Linked DNA regions of Homo sapiens: all the other regions are linked to region 5. Evidence: promoter capture Hi-C in 16 types of primary human blood cells and fetal thymus (Javierre and others, 2016). All regions are on one chromosome and are shown on one strand. The core of a region is centred on a gene start or on the middle of the fragment in contact, and the rest is flanking DNA. Distances in the headings are between cores, read along the strand shown.

Region 1 (2,749 bases), core at 116-2,615, 1.1 Mb before region 5:
TTTTTATTCCTAAATATACTAAACTACTCCATTTGTGAATTTTAGCTAATACCCTTACACTCCCTATTAAAATCTATGAAAATATCAGAGAGCTAATTTGACTTTACATTAGTTCTCCTCGTTTCATATTTTTGTTAGTTTTATAATGCCTTTTGATACAGTTTAGTTATGTGCCCCCTCTAAATCTCATGTTGAATTGTAATCCCCAATGTTGGAGGTGGGGCCTGGTGGGAGGCGATTGAATCATGGGGGCAGGTTTTTCATGAATAGTTTAGCACCATCCCCCAGGTGCTGTCTTATGACAGTGAGTGAGTTCTCATGAGATCTGGTCGTTCAAAAGTGTGTGGCACCTTCCTTCCCCCCAACTCTCTCTCACTCCTGCTCTCTCCCTGTGACGTGTCTGCTCCCACTTTGCCTTCCACCATGAGTAAAAGCTCCTTGAGGCCTCCCCAGAAGCCAAGCAGATGCTGGCGCTATACTTCCCTTACAGCCTGCAGAACCATGAGCCAATTAAACCTTTCTTCATAAATTACCCAGTCTCAAGTATTTCTTTATAGCAATGCAAGAATGCACTAAATACACCTTTTATTCTTAAAGCATATTATATTTATATACTATTCTGCCAAGGTTTATCTTCCTCTTTTTGTCTCAGTTCTACAGTTAAATATGTTCAGTTTACACCTCACAGACCTTATAAATGAAGTTTCTCCAGTCATTTTGTAGTGGCAGAAGTTTATTCTCTACTACATTCCTGAGCAAATACTCATGCGAATGATATTCCCAGGTAGCTCGCCTGTTCAAAACTTCCTTTGATTGGTTGTCAATGGCCTTACACTTGAAGGATATAAAAATTCATGTCTCATATTTCTTTCCTGAGTGTTGAAAAATATGTTTTATCACTTCCTAACCTAAAAAAATGCATTTTACTGTTTTCCTTTTTTTCTTGATTGAGGTAAAATTTATAAACATTGAAATTTACCCGTTTTATTTTATATTTCTGAAGCTTCTAACTATGTTTATTAATGGGTTGTAAGAATTCTGTTCCAAGTAGACTAAAGTCCCCATTTCCTTACTTGCTGTGAGCAAAGGGTTGTTTTTAGTTTCAACAGGCTCCTATATTCCTTGGCTCAGGGACCCTTTCTCTGTCTTTGAAGCCAGCAATGACCAACTGAGTCCTTCTCGTGCTTCAAATCTCATTGACCTCTCCTTCTGCCTCCTCTCTCTTGCCTTCCTCTATTACTACACATCTGACTGACTCTTCCATTTTCTGTTCTGCTTTTAAGGACTTTGTGATTAGACTGGGCCCATCCAGGTGTTCCAGGATAATCTCCCTATTTTAATGTCAGGTGATTAGTAACTTTAATGGCATCTGCAAAGTCATTTTACAACAGTATGTGAAGTCATGTTTGATTATATTTTCTTTACAACAGGAATGAGAATCTTAGGGGGACACCTTTAGAATTCTGCTTACCACATACAGACATGAAAAAACTCACTTGATGTTACTTACAAGGAAAGTATAAACTAAGCATACAATGAGATACCATTGTTCACCTTTCATTTAGGCTAAGATCAGCCAGTATGATAACATACTGATGAAGGATAGGAGTAACAAGAACTTGGGTATATTGCTACTACAAGTTTTAACTGTCATAACATTGATAGAGGGTAATGTGGCAAAATCGTAACTACAAACATAAATTTGTTTGTCCAGAAATTCTACTTCTAGAAGCTTTTCTACAGATGTTACATATGTATGAAATGAACAAGGTTGTTTACTGCATGTTGATTTTTGTAGCAAAATATTGAAAGCAAACTAAATACCCAGGGGACTAGTTAACAAGGTAGCGTCACTTGATATCAATAGAACACAATACATAGACTGCAATAGAATACATAAAAACAATGATGAGCTTCTTTATATACTGTTAGAAATGATATGTAAGATATATTATTTTTAAAAGTTATAGAACAGCAAATATTATACGCAACCAGTTGAGCAAAAAAAAGGAGTAGTAGAATATATACACCTATGTGTATTTGCTTACATCGGCATAAAATATCTCTGAAAGTATATGAGAGAAACACAATAATAATTGATGCCTTCAGGGAAGAGGAATTGGTGGTACCTGGTGGAAACTTTTGGGACTGTTTGCATCTTGAATCATGTAAACGTATAACCCAGATAATAAGCTAAATGAGTAAAACAAACTATGTAAAGTTATTTCTACCAACACCACCGTTTCTTGAAAGTAAATATTTTTACAGGAGAGGCAGGCATCTAATGAGTATCAGTCAACCAGCCAGCAGAGCAACTTCTGAATATCATGTTTTTCCATCTTTAGTATAGTTCGTATGATTAATGGTAGTCTCCCCATTTTACAGTTGAAAAGACTGAAGCCCAGAAAGACGTGCAATTACCCAAGACTGCAGAAGTGCTAAGACATTTGTCTAGGGTTCAACCCGGGGCAATTTTCTATCACAATTTTAACCACTGCATGATAAGACCATATTTTTTTTTAAAAAAAAAGAATATTATCTTAGAACAAAGAATATCCTTTTTTAAAAAAATTTATCTTTACATAAAATTAAACCCATTGCCTATTTTCCATTTTGTGTGTACAGTGGCACTGGTCTCCAAATTAAAGTTTAAGAAATACTGATGGAGGCCAGGCATGGTGGCTCACGCCTGTAATCCCAGCACTTTGGGAGGCTGAGGCGGGTGGATCACCTGAGGTCAGGAGTTCCA
Region 2 (2,700 bases), core at 67-2,566, 1.2 Mb before region 5:
CTTGGAAACCTTCCTTTCGATATTTTCTTATAGTTCAGGTCTCCTAGTGTTAAATTATTTCAGCCTTTGCATGTCTAAAACTGTCTTTGTTTTACTTTTTTGTCTGTAAGTTGTTTTTTTCTGAGTTAAAAATTCTAGTTTGACAGTTTTAACCTTTCAGTACATTAAAGATATTGCTCCACTGCCTTCTGGCTTACATTATTTCCAAAAACAAAACAAAACAAAACGAAACAAAAAAACCTCTGTTATCATTACCTTTGTCCTCTTCATAATGTCTTTTTTTCCCTGTCTTCCAAGATTTCCTCTTTATTATTGTTATAAGCAATTTGATTATTGCATGCTTTCATGTTTTCTTCATGTTTCTTGTGCTTCTAGTAACTATACCTTTATAGCTTTCATCAGCTTTGGGAAATCCTTAGCCATTATCTTTTCACACATTTTTTTCTCAACCCTCCCTCTTGATTCAAAACTCCAATTGGATTCAGTACTCCTAGTGTATTGACTATTGTTTACAATAATCTCTTGTATATTTCAAAATAGCTCGAAGAGAATAATTTCAATATTTCTAGCATAAAGACAAATATTTAAGTTCATGGATATATATCCCAATTACATTGATTTGATGTTTTACAAAGTATATGAATATATTAAATTATCACATGTTCCCTGAAAAGATGTACACCTGTTATGTACAAATTAAAAAAAAAAAAGCTTAAAAGAATTTTTTTTAAAAAAGCTTAAATCTTCTTGGGCTTTGTACTGGATGCAGTTGTTACTTGCAAATTATTTAATCCTTTCAAGTCTTTATATTTTAAGCTTCATTAAATGGACCATATTACTGTTTATTCTTGGGTTAATTTCCCCCACTACTGAGCCAAGACCTTTGTTAGTGCTCTAATTGATGCCTCATGAATTGTGGTTTTCTACTTTGGGTGTTAGGAACAGACACTATTGTCAACCTTTTGGAACTTAGGACACTCTTCTTTCTAATTCCTTTGGATAGTTATTTTTTTTCTGTATTAGCTAGCTTTTTCACATGAGTGTGCAAATCAGTACTTAATTGAAACCTTCATGGGTACCTTCTTCAGGTCCTTAGAGTTCTTTTTCTGTGCATCTCTCTTTTCTCTAGCACTCTGCCCTGAGGGCTCTAGACAACTTTGCTTCCTCAGACTTCCAGCTCCATCTCAACTCAGGGAAAGCATCAGATTCAGCCTGGATTCCCTTTCTCTACACTGTGGCCCAGAATATTTCTCCATCTAGTAATCTGGATCAATAATAATGAATTCTTTATTTCTTTTCTTCTATAAAACATCACTACTCTTTATAGAATGATGTCCAATGTCTTGAGCATCATTGTTCTATGTATGCTCTTACTATTATTATTTTTTAGTTATTTCCATTACTGTATCTGAAACAGATGCATCCTGAACTGGAATTCTTAACTACTTCACCATACAACTTTTTTCTTCATTTACTATTTGCTAGTTTAGTAAGATAACACTCCCCTCTTTAAAGCACCCACTACTTTGATAGAAGACAGATAAATAATTTTTTCTCAGTTGGCATTGTAACAAGTCTAACTAGACTATTCCACATTTCTATAAAACCACAGATAAGTGATAAGCCCCATGAGTCTCATGGACATCAGACTACTTTGTTTTGCGGTAAATGAAGTTCCTTGGTTGAAATGGACAAGGACTGCCATATGCAGATTTATTAAATGGAAGTACCGGTGGGAAACAAGATCAACAAGGAAAGTAACTATAAATTTGAAATAAATGTCTATTTTAATGAAAAAACAATAAGTAGTTTTTCCCAAGCTTAATGGTGTTTCAGAAAATATGTTTTACACTAAGAATACTCTCTTTAATGAGACCACAATAGTGGCTTTGTATTGACGTAAATGGAGCATTACCTGTGGCATGCCACATTTGGCCTTGTTGAAGGGATATCTCTCTGCCAACATAGCCATATTGTTCTTGAGTTCTTTGAGCATATCATATGACAGTTGCAGAGGAAAGTGGCTGATAATTGCAAAACAACTAAATTATCAATATAGTTATTTAAATCCTCCTCTACAAGATCAACTTTTTGTTGCATATTTATGTGGTAATCTAATACTCTTATACTAGAAGCACATTTTGAATGGCCTAGACATGTGCAACCTTCTCTCATTATGACCTTCGAGCTATAACATAACACCACAGAATTTTAATTCCAAATGTGATCACTATATCATGAAGAATCACCTATAACTTAGGTTTCATTTTTTTTTCTCCTTAGCCAACTTCTCAAAAAAAAAAAACCAAACAAAAAAACTTACCGCAAAGCCACAAGTATGGGTTAAAGAAGAGCCATCATTATGCCTAGCATAGGCACACAATGTGTGTGGTGTGTGAACCACCCACTCATTCAACTCAAAGGTGTCTTCAGGAGCTCTTGATTTAGTTTTCATAAACTAGATTATTTATATTTGATGGTAGATTGCTGCTGGGCATGTGCCAAAGTAATTAACAACACATATTTTATTATTAAAACTTGGATTGCATAATCATTTGGTGAACCTATGATCAAATACCCATCAATGCCTCTTAAATAGTTGACCATATAATTTATTAACAAAATTAGGATGCAAGGGTAAAGCAGGACTGTGCCAGAAAGCAGAATGTATAACCACTTTATAATACTTTACAACTCTAA
Region 3 (2,758 bases), core at 90-2,589, 1.2 Mb before region 5:
AAAGAAGATCCCTTTGGAGAAATCAATAAAGATCTGCTACCTAAGTGAGGATAAAATTTTCTTCCTTAAAAGTATCACATTAACTCAAATTTCAGAAAGATGATACAGTGGCAATATTTTGATCATCCCTTCGGCTCTAAACAAATAGCAATGATAGATAAAATATAAAAAAGATATGCCTTGGCTCAAACACAAGATAAACTACTTTGTGACAAGAAATGAGAGAATGTGCAGAGATGGTACTGTGGAATGGTCAAGGTTCACATCCAGAAGCAAACAGTGGAAGCCAAGAGTTTGACTCCTGTCAGAATAAGAAAATTAAGAGTATTCTTTGTGGTATTTGGGAGCTGACTTCTGCCTTTCTCAGTGAAGCCAGAGTCCTCACCTAATAAAAAGAGCCTGAGAAAGACTGTTCCATTGCAGGGGCTGTGGCACATGGTGTGATCCAGGTCTACAGGGGCACATGGTGAGCGGCAGGCCTATAGGGCAGGAGGATATAGACAGCTTTGAGCTGAACCAACCCAAACCCTCACTGGGTAGCTTCATTTGGATTTTCCCTCATACCTTCAGGATAAAATATCACAATTAGAAGAATGGTTTTTAATTCAGCCCCTGAAAGGAAGCCTTTGCTAGAAAATGATGGATGAGGGTAGAAGAGCAAAGAGAAAGAGGAAAACAAGAAGATAAAAACAAAATAAAAAAAAAACACACCCCCCTCTACACGCTATAAAAAAGTCTGTTAAACTGAAGGCAGAAACACATATTTGCAAAGCTTTCAATAAAACTTTCAGTGAAACTTTATTTATAAAAACACACAGTGGGCTGGATTTGTTTCACAGGCCATAGTTTGCCAACCTCTGACTTGGAAGATTATTATGAAAAGTCCAACAAGTAAATGCTAAAGTCCTGAATGGAGCTTTGAGCATTGTGATCTTAATACCTTGTCCTTATTTACAAAATATCTGAAAATGTTTCATAAAAATATTAGTTAAAAAAGTTTTAAATGGATGATGAAGATTGCAGTGAAATAAGCTATCCCTCCTCAGGGGTTAGAAAACTGGGAGCACATATCCAGAGATAACATGACCAGCACCTGCTAATCCTAACTGAGTTTCATTTTAAATGGTCACACAATACAAGGAAGAAAAGCCTTGAGTCTGTTCATGGTGAGAACGTCAGACAGAGACTCCCACATAAAATGAAGACTCTCAAAGACATAGCCCTTGTATAAATTGTGACTCATTAACAACAATGACAAAAAATTTCCACAAAAAGGACCAGGGCGGAAATTGTTCTATCTGGACTTTAGCTCTTGGTGGAGGAGACATATCAAGTGTTCTTAAGTCAACTGTAATACTTTTTTTGTATTATGAATTCACACTACCTAAAGGATATAAAAAAATCTCGAGTAGAGAATTGGATTTAGGTTGCTGCTGCCAGGTTGGTAGTGCCCCTTACCCCATGTTCTTTGAAAAGAGAAAAATAAACCCTTTCTGAATAATGCATTTTAAATACAGGTCTTAAAGAAGGCCCACAAATAAAATTTTAATATGTATGAAATCACTAATTTTTTTTAATTACAAAGCATGCCCCCAAAAAATACCAAGAGGGAGAGTAAGCAGAAAAATAGCTTAAGAATGAGGCCTGCAGAGACTTCATACATTGAAATTAACAGAAAGATGATATGCTTAATATGATTGAATAAATAAAAGAAGAAATTAAAAGCATAGATAAGGAGTAATAATCAATAAAAAATAATCACACATATTTGAAAAAGAACCAAAGATATATAGATGGACAGATACAGATGTAGACATGTAGGTCTTTCTATCCATGCCTATCAACACGGCTAACTATGGAGCTGTTTCTACTTCAACTTATTGCGGATTACAAAAGCTATGGTTGAGAAGCTTTGCAGAGCTGCTAGTAGACATATGGAGCTGAAGAGGCAAAAACTGGCATTCAGAGATCTACAGGTATAGAGTCTCTCAGCTGGGAACCTTTAAAAGCTATGTCCTAAGATAAAGGTGAATTGGAAGTAGACCAGTCCTCCCCCAAAATCTCAAAGCCTAATTTCATGCCCTTTCAATCCATCATAAAGAAATTTTCATCCAAAAATTTTCCCACTCTGAATAAAGATAACATCCTGTGGATATCATGTTATTTCATATTTTTTGTTATAATGTTTCATACTTTTTAAAAAATGGTTAGACAAATAAAAAGCTAGTCTTGAGCAAAAACTAAAAGAAAATAAAGCAATACAAGAAAGAGATCCAGATACTGGCATACTCGAACACAGATTCTTAAATGACTACAATTTATATACTAAAAGAGTTAAATGATAAGATGGATAATTCTGGTGGAGAATTGGAAACTATCAAGATGAATCAAATGAAATTAGAAAATTAAAGTACAATACCTAAAATTAAGTACTTGGTGGATGAGTCTACTAGTAGTTCAATCACAGCTGAACAGAAAATTAGTAAAACTGGAAGATACCCAAAATAAAATACTGAGAGATAAGATGGAAAATACAGGAAAAAGTACTATAAACCGATAGGCTCTGGTGAATTCAAAATGACTAAATTAACTAGCCACAAAGAATCTCACAGCATATTACTGAACATAATAAGAGTAATTCACATAAATACTTATAACAGTATTTATTTATGTTGTAAAATTACAAAACTGAAAAAAAAATTTAAATTTTCCTTACTAGAACAAGTCTAAGGAAAAGAGAATAATATATGCTCAATTC
Region 4 (2,743 bases), core at 58-2,557, 1.2 Mb before region 5:
TTTTCTGGAGAAGTTAAATCCCAAAAGGTCTTCATTGGTTTGTTCTTTAAGCGAAGGTGGCAGGGTAAATAAAATTGTAATGTTAACGGCTGGCTCAGAGTTCCCCTTAGAGAGAACACTGTCTTTGTTTAGAAAAACACCTTGCTATTTTGCTTTAGATGTGTGAGCCCCGAGGATGTGTTCTGAAAGGATCTCAGAAGAAAAAAAAAAAGACATCTTTTTCTGTCCAAAAATTTAATAAGAATTTAAAAGAACACATGAAATAGGAAAGGGCAGAAACTCAGACATTACCCCTTCCAAAGTAAAGATAGAGATGAGAAAGAAAGAGAGAAAGAGAAGAGAGAGAGGAGAGAGAGAGAGAGGAGACAGAAGAAAGAGAAAGAGACTAGAAAAATGTAGCAAAGCAGGAATCCAGAGATGCAGGAACTCTGTGATTACTAAGAAATTTCTAGTGGGTGGCTCATGGACAAAAGCCTCTAGAACAGGTCTAATGCTCAGTATTAAACAGTTTGGAAACTATTGCTGCTATACAATACTCTTCTTGGTAAAATCTGATGCACCTGCAAATGACTTGTGTGGGTAGCATTTTGGAGAAAGCAGAGATGAATAGGTCAGCATAGGACCACATGTCATGAACAAACATTGGAGATGAGACACTCTTGAGAACTGGAGTTCAGTGGGAATCGGAATTCAAGGCTAGAGGCAAACCATGAGAATGTCAGCCATTGGAACACTGTTGAGAACCTCAAACTTACCGTCTGGGAAGGGAGATTGTTGCAAATTTATGTAAACGTTGAATGATGGTGCAAACTCAGTTGATATTAATGTTGTTTAGGACAAGATCATGAACTAGGCTGGATAATTTCTAGTTAGTTCCTTGGAAAATCACAGTAAACAAGAAGTGAGAGAAGAGGAGGAGGAGGAGAACAAGGAGAAGGAAAAAGAGGTATACAAGGCATGCAGAAAAGTAAAATAACAGAAAAGCTGTTATAGCTGAATCCAAGTATAAGGACTAATGAGGTAAAGACTGGAGAAACTAGACTCCAAATAATATAAATTGGGCATTAGCTGCCTAATAATTAAATAAAAATGGTCCTAGGAAGAAGACTGAGAATTTAGGCAGCTTTAGATGTGTGAGCCCCGAGGATGTGTTCTGAAAGGATCTCAGAAGAAAAAAAAGACATCTTTTTTTGTCCAAAAATTTAATAATAATTTAAAAGAACACATGAAATAGGAAAGGGCAGAAACTCAGACATTACCCCTTCCAAAGCAAAGATAGAGATGAGAAAGAAAGAGAGAAAGAGAAGAGGAGAGAGAGAGAGAGAGGAGAGAGAGAGCTGTAGCTGCCTAAATTCTCAGTCTTCTTCCTAGGACCATTTTTATTTAATTCAGAGTAATCCAAAAGTTATTATAAATTCAGCCTAAGCTAAATAGCCATGACTTGATTGCCAGCATAAGGATCATATCTGGCATGAAGGTCATAAAAGCTAAAACTCCATTATTATGATTCTTACAATCAGTCAATTCTTTTTAACAGGAGGTAAATTCTAAACCATTTCTAAAACAAAGCAAGGGCAAATTAGAAATATGAGCCAAGTTCTTCCTAATATGTTTAGTCATTGACATTAAGTAGTTCTACCAAAACATTTTGGTCATGGTCACAATCAGATTCTAAATAAGCAGGTTTATAATGGGGGTAAATGGGGGTAAAGAATTTGCATGGATCATGTATGTATAGTGCATTTCAGGAAATACATTTCATGCATATACCTTACACGGAATTATCCATTCTGCCTACCACTAGCCATGTATGTAAAAAGAAGTTCTCACAGGGCTGCAGCATCAGATCAGGGAGACTATAATTCTACTACATTGAGAATGAGTGAACAAATTAGGAATATTATACTCTGACAACATTTTAAGAACATTAGAAAAGACTGATGTTATCTAACGCAATCTCTAGTAATAGCAATTAACATTCATTGAGTCCTTTATGCTACCCTAAGCACTTTTCGTGTACTATCATAATTCATTCTTACAAAAATCCCATGAAGTAGCTCCATCTTATAAAGGCAGAAGCTGAGGCTTAGGGGAGCTTAGAAGAGTTTAATTACCTATCCAAGGTCACCCAATTAAGAAGCAGCAGGCAGAAACTCGGGACCTTTATACTCATTTGCCTATGAATCATGTTATTTTTACTTACTAAAAATGGATGTCAGCTTGGTTCATCTTTTGGGAGTTTTTTCCTAGATTCCTAACTTTGGCTTAGCTTGGCCACCTATTTAATTCCTGTGTGTAGCTAGTCTATGACGTTTTTTATTTTTCTTCTCACTTTTGACTCTGTGTTTACTTTTGAACTTAGGCATAGATTAGCCTATTTCCTTATAACTCTTTGATATATGGCTTGTTCTTATCTTTAGCTCTTTCTCCACTTAGCTTTTCAGCGTTCTAAACATTGAGAATTTATTATGTTCAAGATATTTTGTCAGTCTCATAAAGGGAAGTGCCAAAAGAAAACACCACAGATAATAGTTATGACTGAATTCTTTATTTTAGGGAACTAATCTCTGTATAGGGTGGGGGTAGTTCTAAAAGTCTTGGGACATAAGAAAAATTGAGATCTGGGTGATATAGACCATCACATAAGAAAGAATGACCTATCCACTGGAGTCTCTGCATAGGATGTTGATCAGGGCAAACCCCAACCCAGCTAGTCATGTGCACCTGTGTATTAATCCTGACA
Region 5 (2,761 bases), core at 49-2,548:
TGGCAATGGTGGTGAGGGCAGGAGATCAAGTCATTTTTCAAAGTTCTAAGTAAATGATGTTCTAGTAAGATCAATATGAGAGAATTAAAGACTAATATAAAGTTTATCACAAGGCCAACATCTATAAGTTAGACCTTTTTTTCTTTTCCTCTAAGGGCAGTGGTTCTCAAATTTTAACCCATGTAAGAATCACCTGGAAGTCTTGTTAAACACAGACTTCTGGCTGGGCACAGTGGCTCACACCTGTAATCCCAGCACTTTGGGAGGCCGAAGTGGGTGGACCACCTGAGGTCAGGAGTTCGGACAGCCTGGCCAATATGGTGAAACCCCGTCTGTACTAAAAATACAAAAGTTAGCCGGGCCCTGGTGGTGTGCACCTGTAATCTCAGCTACACAGGAAGCTGAGGTAGGAGAATCGCTTGAACCCAGGAGGTGGAGGTTGCAGTGAGCTGAGATCGTGCCACTGCACTCCAGCCTGAGTGACAGAGTGAGACCCTGTCTCAAAAAAAAACCACGGACTTCTGACCCCATCCCAGAGTTCCAGGGGTTGGAGAGCATGGAGGGGGAAGATTTTTCCTTTCTAACAAGTTCTCAAGTCATAGTGATACTGCTGGTCCAGGGACCCTACTTTAAGAACTACCGACCTCAGGGAACCTTCACAGTAAGTATCTGTAATGAGTCCAATCAATGAAAACTTCAGTGAATTAGACTTCATTAGAATTACTTCAACTTTGTTTTGGGAAAGTCTATAGACATTTTTGTTTAATGCTGCATACATATGCATTATCTCCACCTAGGCATCAAATAAATATTCTTTGGGGTACTGATCTAATGAGAATACTGGTAGATATAAATGCTCTTCCATTTGCATTTTAATTATTTGAAAACTAATGTTCACAAATTCACTCCCTGGTGCTCTAATCATTTCCTCTACTATTCAATGCTTATCAAAGCAAGTCATTAATAAAATAGATCAACACAAAATGTTTTATGATGTGAAGAAAGTAGAGTCCCAAAGAATGCATCTCACAACCTTAGAGAAAATAAATGAAATAGAAACCTAGAACTGCTTCACTGAACTATGAGTGATGATTTGTTGAATGCCTCAAGAGGAAGTAAAAAGTTACATTTGCATCATTTCTGTATTTGATCAGCCGTTGTTTACCTGACTTGTTCTTAGGCTGCCTTAGATTCTGAGCTGGCTTCCCTTTAGGCTTTTTCATAAACAAATAACTGGAAATGTCTCTAAGGAGGGGAGAGACCAGTTCCTCATTGCAGCTGGTAGCAAGGTTGCTTTCACTCAGCCAGGAGGACGCATTGTTACAGGTGTGGAACTTGTTGCTCCGAGCCCTCGCCTGGCAGCTCACTCTGGATCTGCGGGTTCTGAGGAGCCTCGGGACCCACCTGGGTGCAGTTGCCTTCAGGGACAGACCATCTTACAGGTATTAAAGGCAACATTCAGCTGCTTTCTGGGTTTCTCTCTTGCACTTTCCTTTTGTCCTATTGCTATCAGTTTCGCTTGTTTTGCTGATCTCTCCAGGTCTCATTAGAATTAGTGAATCATTAACCTGCAATGGTTTCATTTCTAGTACAGTGAGATGGCTTCCCCAACAGTGTGGGTGGGTGTTTGCTGGATTCTCAAAGCTTGGAAGGTCAAAGGTTGGTGAATTTTCTTTATGGTGACCATGTATTAATTTCCTCTTTTAAACATAAAGAAGAGTTAGCATGAATGGATTGACTTGTTAACTTTTGATTCTACCAGATCCACTGGGTGTAGTCATTTAGGGAAAGCTTCCCAGGAGCCTTAGCCATTATCTCATTTAATTTCTGCAACAGGCCTGTGAGGGAGGTTCTTTGATGTCCTCTTGGTAAATGCTGCATGGCAGTTGGCAGAGGAGAAGTGGCTTGTCCTAGGTCACACAGCCAATTGGCGGTGATACTGGAAGAGAAACCAGACCCATTTCTTCTGGTGCTTGAGCTCTTCCTGCCTTTCTGCAAACCACCTCCCTAAGCCCTGCTGTTTTTAAAGTTTCTCCATTTCCGCAGTGCATCATGTCGGCAGTTACTATTGCCTTGGTTCCAATATTTAAGACAGTGGCTAATAAATAATTCTTACCGATGTGAATCCTATTGGCCATAAATAACTTCCTACCAGCAGCTACACCCCTGTGTCTGAACGACTACAAAGGAAACCCAAAGCCGTATCCTAACCCCTCAAAAGAGGAGAGGAAAAGGCCAGAAGGACAGAGGGGAAACCCAAAGACTAAGAAATCTGATCTAACTATTATGCAAGTGCCTATGCAAATATACTGAATTCCTTTAACATTGTTGCTGCCTAGAACTTGGACAGTCTTCTAAAGGAGAAAAATAATAGAACGGCCCTGATTGTATGTATGTGTGAAAGTACCTATTGATTCAAAATTAGCTGGGTGGGGTGGTAAGCATCCATAGCCCCAACTACTCAGGAGCACTGCAGCATGAGGATTCTGTGAGGCTAGGAGTTTGAGGTTACAGTGCGATATGATCACACCTCTGCACTCAGCCTGGGCGACAGAGCCAGACTCCATCTCTAAAAAGAAAAAAAAAAAGAAAGAAAGTACCTATAGATTTGATGCTCAGCTCAGCATTTGTTTGTTGGGAGAATGAGGAACTGGCCTCTCCATGTAGCAACAATGTACCTTATTTTATCAATGGTAGGGAGGGACCATTTCATACCTCTCCAGCAATGTTGGTATCAACCTTCAGAGCAGCCTCCAGGAAT

The links. Contacts are between HindIII fragments. The CHiCAGO score rates a contact against its expected background, and 5 or more counts as called.
Region 1: a fragment that was not itself captured here is called in contact with the fragment with the promoter of PLEKHG7 in region 5 in 1 of 17 cell types (non-activated CD4 T cells); the score reaches 6.2 in non-activated CD4 T cells.
Region 2: a contact is called between a fragment that was not itself captured here and the fragment with the promoter of PLEKHG7 in region 5, in 5 of 17 cell types (activated CD4 T cells, non-activated CD4 T cells, total CD8 T cells and 2 more). The highest score is 14.4, in activated CD4 T cells.
Region 3: a fragment that was not itself captured here is called in contact with the fragment with the promoter of PLEKHG7 in region 5 in 3 of 17 cell types (non-activated CD4 T cells, activated CD4 T cells and fetal thymus); the score reaches 8.5 in non-activated CD4 T cells.
Region 4: a fragment that was not itself captured here is called in contact with the fragment with the promoter of PLEKHG7 in region 5 in 4 of 17 cell types (naive CD8 T cells, total CD4 T cells, activated CD4 T cells and 1 more); the score reaches 7.5 in naive CD8 T cells.

What each region holds. Positions count from the first base shown.
Region 1 is chr12:91,599,204-91,601,952 of GRCh38, forward strand. All of the region lies in intron 1 of LOC105369896 (a long non-coding RNA gene), which reads right to left. Among named protein-coding and RNA genes, the nearest start is that of LINC02823, 270 kb to the left of the region's middle. The HindIII fragment of the contact is 729 bases long and covers 1,002-1,730 here.
Region 2 is chr12:91,534,653-91,537,352 of GRCh38, forward strand. The region is part of intron 1 of LOC105369896 (a long non-coding RNA gene); the gene reads right to left. Among named protein-coding and RNA genes, the nearest start is that of LINC02823, 210 kb to the left of the region's middle. The HindIII fragment of the contact is 1,004 bases long and covers 815-1,818 here.
Region 3 is chr12:91,495,310-91,498,067 of GRCh38, forward strand. All of the region lies in intron 2 of LOC105369896 (a long non-coding RNA gene), which reads right to left. Among named protein-coding and RNA genes, the nearest start is that of LINC02823, 170 kb to the left of the region's middle. The HindIII fragment of the contact is 1,138 bases long and covers 771-1,908 here.
Region 4 is chr12:91,514,146-91,516,888 of GRCh38, forward strand. The region is part of intron 1 of LOC105369896 (a long non-coding RNA gene); the gene reads right to left. Among named protein-coding and RNA genes, the nearest start is that of LINC02823, 190 kb to the left of the region's middle. The HindIII fragment of the contact is 3,063 bases long and covers 1-2,743 here.
Region 5 is chr12:92,701,691-92,704,451 of GRCh38, forward strand. It overlaps PLEKHG7 (pleckstrin homology and RhoGEF domain containing G7), which reads left to right and starts at 1,299. Exons shown (of 17, transcript NM_001377329.1): 1 at 1,299-1,442. RefSeq lists an enhancer at 1,440-1,499. The HindIII fragment of the contact is 11,169 bases long and covers 1-1,642 here.